2 separate regions of the Homo sapiens genome follow, and region 2 is linked to region 1. The links are contacts of gene promoters, found by promoter capture Hi-C in blood cells and fetal thymus (Javierre and others, 2016). All regions are on one chromosome and are shown on one strand. Each heading gives the region's core, a stretch centred on a gene start or on the middle of the fragment in contact. The rest is flanking DNA. Distances are from core to core; before and after follow the strand shown. Region 1 holds the start of MAPK7 (mitogen-activated protein kinase 7). Region 2 overlaps ELAC2 (elaC ribonuclease Z 2).

What was found. The method cuts DNA at HindIII sites, captures the fragments that hold promoters and counts their contacts. A CHiCAGO score of 5 or more calls a contact.
Region 2: a contact is called between a fragment that was not itself captured here and the fragment with the promoter of MAPK7 in region 1, in 1 of 17 cell types (neutrophils). The highest score is 10.6, in neutrophils.

What each region holds. Positions count from the first base shown.
Region 1 is chr17:19,377,092-19,379,791 of GRCh38, forward strand. It overlaps MAPK7 (mitogen-activated protein kinase 7), which reads left to right and starts at 1,407. Exons shown (of 7, transcript NM_002749.4): 1 at 1,407-1,539; 2 at 1,805-2,041; 3 at 2,691-2,700. The coding sequence starts at 1,810. It also overlaps a transcript of B9D1 not described here. RefSeq lists silencers at 483-532, 1,243-1,302, 1,373-1,632 and an enhancer at 803-1,032. The HindIII fragment of the contact is 26,192 bases long and covers 1-2,700 here.
Region 2 is chr17:13,008,446-13,011,145 of GRCh38, forward strand. ELAC2 (elaC ribonuclease Z 2) reads right to left here. Exons shown (of 24, transcript NM_018127.7): 8 at 2,168-2,226. Among named protein-coding and RNA genes, the nearest start is that of ELAC2, 8.2 kb to the right of the region's middle. The HindIII fragment of the contact is 9,574 bases long and covers 1-2,700 here.

The sequences.
Region 1 (2,700 bases), core at 157-2,656:
CTTCCTGAAATGTATAAAGGCTGACTATGCCCCGACCATCTTGGGCACATGTTGTAGGACCTCCTGAGGCTGTCACCACCATGTCCTTAACATTGGCAAAATAAACTTTCTAAATTGACTTGAGACTTGTCTCAGATACTTGGTTCACATAGGTTTCTTTTAGGGGCGATGAAAATGTTCCATAAACCACTCTACCTAAAATTAGGTAGTGATGATGGCTGCTCAACTGTGAATATACCAAAAAACACTGAATTGTACACTATAAAAGGATGAGTTTTATGGTATGTTATTAAAAGTTGTTTAAAAGTGAGGGACCCCTCCAGTTATTGATATGGAATGATCTTCAGGAAAAGAGCATAATATGCTACATTTTTGTACACCAAAGGGGAGGTAGGTACGAATATGCATACATATTGCTTTTTTCTAGAAGCCGCCTAGGAGTGAAACCAAAATTCTTCACTTCTTTTCGGCCCTACCTCGAGCTCCCTTTAGAAAACCTTTCCTTCCAGCTCACAGTATCCACCATGTCCACCTTCGCCTCCCGGCACTGAGCCTTAGAGGGGCGGTGCTCCATAAACATTTGCTACATGAATGAACGAATAAACTATCGGATTTTGGGGTGGGTCGGGACAGCTCGGTTCCAGCGAGGGCTCCGCCCACCCGCGGGCTCCGCAGAGGAGCAGAGGTTGGGCGGCCGCCTCGGTTAACTCCGCTGCAGCCCAAAGCACGGGAATCGCGGGACAGACAAACGAGCGGAGGGAAGATACCTAGAAGCCAGGAAACCGCGAGCTGCAGTCCAACTTGGCCGGAAGCTGCGGAGAGGCTCAGCCACCGGAAGTCAGTGGAGGGTTCGGCCGGACGCTCTAGAATCCCGGAGGACCGGGATCTCTGTGGTTGGCCGTGACGGGCACCCTCTACCGGGGATGACACATTCCCAGAGCTCCTGGGACCAAGCAAATGGCGGACACAATTCCCTGGGCGGAAGGGGACTTCGGGAGCCAGTAGCCAAGGTAACAGTCCCAGACCTGGGCATCTCAGGCCGGGCAGTTCCCCGAGCTCACGGGACTAGCTGTGATTGGCCGGATGAGGTTGAGAGCTTCATGGGGACGCGCGCGCTACGTGCAGGGGCGTTGCCTTCCATTCACTTGGCGCCCGACTGCCAGTGCGCATGCGTTTGAAGGCGGTGCAGGGCGGGGAGCACACCCCTGCGAAGTGCCGGGCACCCTTTGGGCGGCTCCCGCCGGCGAGCTGGACAGCGGCGCGCGCCAGGCGTGGCTTTCTCGGCCGGTGGGCTAGGATTGGACGCAGTAGGTAGAAGGGGCAGGACCCTCCGCAGCAGTAGCTCAGCGATTGGCCAGGAGCTGGAGGGAGCGTGGCCTTGGGAGGCGGGGCGGAGGGGGACGGACAGGGCAGCTCAAGACGCTGAGGTGGTGGCTGCGGCCTTTGAACAAGTAAGTGAGCCACCCTCGGAGACCCCCGCGCTGGGGACGGGAGGCCGGCGAGCCTCGGGACCTCTGAAAGCCTTGAGGAGGCGCGGGGGTGAGTGCGGCCCTGAGGAAACCCAGGTGCCCCGCCCCTCCCTTTCTTCCTGGCCCGCGCCTCGCCTACCCCTCCCCCGACCCTGGCGGGCCCCCGGCTCTGGGCCCGGACCCCTGGGGTAGCTAGTCTGCCACGAACCAGCCGCGCGCTTCTGCCCTTGTCGGTTTAGGAAACTGGGAAGTTCCCTGGTCCTGCTCCCCAGCCCGCAGAGGGGACACTGAGGCCCACGGTAGGTGGTCCTCTCCTCACCCGAGTCTCCACACAGACACCATGGCCGAGCCTCTGAAGGAGGAAGACGGCGAGGACGGCTCTGCGGAGCCCCCCGGGCCCGTGAAGGCCGAACCCGCCCACACCGCTGCCTCTGTAGCGGCCAAGAACCTGGCCCTGCTTAAAGCCCGCTCCTTCGATGTGACCTTTGACGTGGGCGACGAGTACGAGATCATCGAGACCATAGGCAACGGGGCCTATGGAGTGGTGTCCTCCGCCCGCCGCCGCCTCACCGGTGAGCTTCCTGAGCCGTCGCCTCCCAGATGTGGCAGCGTCGCAGGGAGTGGGAAACCGGCCTGTCCCAGACAGCCGGGAAGGAAAGCGGGGTGCGAGTTCTGGCTCCAGTCAACACACACTGACCAGGGCCTTCTGCCTGCCAGGCTCCGGGGAGGCTCGGTTCTCTGAAACTCCGGCCTGGTGGTTTTGCCATCCTGCCTGCCTACTTCCTCCTTAGGAAAATGATAGTCCCAGTTAGACCAGAATGGAGAGCCAGTCCTTCGTGTCTAAGAGAGAAATGTGTTCTGGAGCCAGACACTGGCATAAGGAACTGGTGGTGGGATGGGTGAGGTCTGAGATGGAGAGGGTGTAGGCATAAGAGGCTGAGCTACACCACTGGGCATCCGTGCAACCTCCAACAAGTTACTAAGCCATATTTCCTTCTCTTTAACGTTGACCTATTGGGACCTGCCCCGCAGGGGAGTTGTGAAGGTAACATTTAATAATGTAGGTAACATGCTTAGCACAGGGCTTGGCACATAGTAGGTACCCAATACTTGGTAGCTGTTGTCATTTGCATCCTAGAAGGGAGGTGTTGATAGGGGCTGAGTCGACTCTGCAGTTTCTCCAAGGTATCCTCTGGTATGTCCCTTTTCCCTGCTCCTCAGGCCAGCAGGT
Region 2 (2,700 bases), core at 118-2,617, 6.4 Mb before region 1:
AGGTTGCAGTGAGCCAAGATCGCACCACTGCACTCCAGCCTGGTGACAGAGCGAGACTCTGTCTCAAAAAAAGAAAAAAAAAGGTACTTGCCGACTTAAGGCAGGGAAACCCATCTCCCTGGGAGCTGAACTCAACCCATGGAGATATGTTCCTCTCTGAGGAATGCAGAGTATCTGGAAGACTGATGAGAGCCAGAACGCAGCCAATAACGCCCCAACAGTGCACCAGCTGCCCAAAGCCGAGGTCTTCCAACAGATGAGTTTTTCAGGTCCTCATGCCAAGAGACTCCTGGAACTTGACCTAGCTCAGCTTTATTGCTTTCCAAAACCTCACCTGAGAGCAGCAAATTAATTAGAAGAGGGGAAAGGCGTTATAGGCTAATCCAGTGACAGCAGCCCTCAGAAGGAGCCGCAGAAGACAGCAAGGAAGGAGATGGAAAAGCCAGGGCAGGCAGCTGGCAGCCCCCAGGAACGGCTGCCTGATAATAGGGCAACTGCCCGAGTGTGTAAAAGTGAGCTTGTCACTTTTCATCATGCTCACTGTTACCTATTCCGGAAAGCAGGAATACGATTTAAAGATTACCATAGAAAACAGTTTAAAAATCAGACAATATAAATATAGATTATCAAAAATAAAATATTTTTAAAACTTTAAAAAATGATTTTGCTATCTAAAACTCAGAAACATACAAGTAATAAGCCTGTTAACAGTAGTACTTAACTTTTATGAAAATCACATTATTCAAATAAATCGATAGAAATGATACTGGCAATGATCTTGCCACTAATATTAACTACTTACTTTCATTATTATTTTCACTTGTAGCTTTTAGAATTTAGATAACAATTCCAAATATATTTCAAAATCAACATTAAAAAATAATCTAAGCCCACAAAAAGGCAATGAAATCTTTTCACATATTTAGACAAATTTGTTGCAAATTGTATTGATAAAATTTTAATGCAAAATTCTATTAAAAATAAGCCACTAGTCAGATCTTACAAACAGCTTATTGTAACAAAAATTTTTAATGGAATTTGACCAATTTCAGAGTTACAGATCTAGGCCTTTGTGAATGCTAGCTAATATTCCAATTAATCTGGTGTTAGACCTTAGCTATTGCAGGGGAATGAAATAAAGTAAAACAGAGTTAAAAGACTTTGAATAAAGGCCTGATGGAGTTGAAGGAAAACAAACACAGCTGCCTTCAATAATTTCTGAATTCTAAAAGGACCAATCATTGGCAAATATAAAAGAATATGGACCAGGCACAGTGCTTCACGCCTGTAATCCCAGCATTTTGGGAGGCCAAGGTGGGTGGATCACCTGAGGTCAGGAGTGAAACCAGCCTGGCCAACATGGTGAAACCCCATCTCTACTAAAAATACAAAAATTAACTGGGTGTGGTGGCGCGCACCTATAATCCTAGCTACTTGGGAGGCTGAGGCAGGAGAATCACTTGAACCTGGGAGGTGGAGGCTGCAGTGAGCCGAGATTGTGCCACTGCACACTCCAGCCTAGGCGATGGAGACAGACATGGTCTCAAAAAAAAAAAAAAAAAATGTACGGAGGCTGACAGGGCACTGGAAAAAAATTTAAAAGGAAATAAAAGTATGGGGTTATTTTGAGAAACAGAGCATCTAAACTCTGAAACCTACAAGTGATGACAATTATGAAAGGTCAGTAGTAATACTTGTTGCAGGCTCATTGCCAGTGTCATTTCTATCGAATTTTTTTTTTCTTTGAGAGAGTCTTGCTCTGTCACCCAGGCTGGAGTGCAATGGTGCAATCTCAACTCACTGCAACCTCCGCCTCCTGTGTTCAAGCGATTCTCTTGCCTTGGCCTCTCAAGTAGCTGGGATTACAGGCATGCGCCACCACACCCAGCTAATTTTTGTATTTTTAGTACAGACAGGGTTTCACCACGTTGGTCAGGCTGTTCTCAAACTCCTGACCTCGTGATCCACCTGCCTTGGACTCCCAAAGTGCTGGGATTACAGGCGTGAGCCACTGCACCCGGCCTTCCATCAGCTTTTCTGAAGATCTGCTATCTCTTCTTGTCTCAGGTAACAGGAGTGCCTACCCTCAAATTAATGAAAAAGTGCAAACCAGAGGTCGCTGACCAAGACCCCAGTCATGTACAGCCCTCCGGAAAGTCTTCCTTACCTTACAGATGAAAGCTACGACCAGGGAAGAGTCCCTGACCCCTCTTCTCTGGCTAACACCTGAGGAAAAACACACTTGATTATCACAAGGTAAATGTGAAAGCTGTGAAGACATCACAGACTGATTATGACCCGATACCTAATTTCACTTCACATAAAAATTAATGGACGCTACTGTCCCAATACAAAGGCTGAAGACACTAATATACTCAAGAAGACTTTTTTTCCCTACTTATGTGGAGATGTGTTTGCGTAAATGAAAAACACAAAACTCTCACCAGAAAAACTTTAGAATGGCAAGTGAAATTTTTTTTAAATGACACATTTCACCTAGGACTGGAGAAGACAGAGAAAAATATATTGTAATGTGCTTTATAACACATATAATATATGAAATAACACAAAAGTTCAAAGGCCTGCAGAGAAAATGCTGGTGTCAGTCTTTACCCGGTGCCATCCAAACAAGGACAGCACATAGGGGTCAGCCTGTTCTCAGTCACTAGACAAGACCTCAGGACAGAAAGAGGAGCTGCC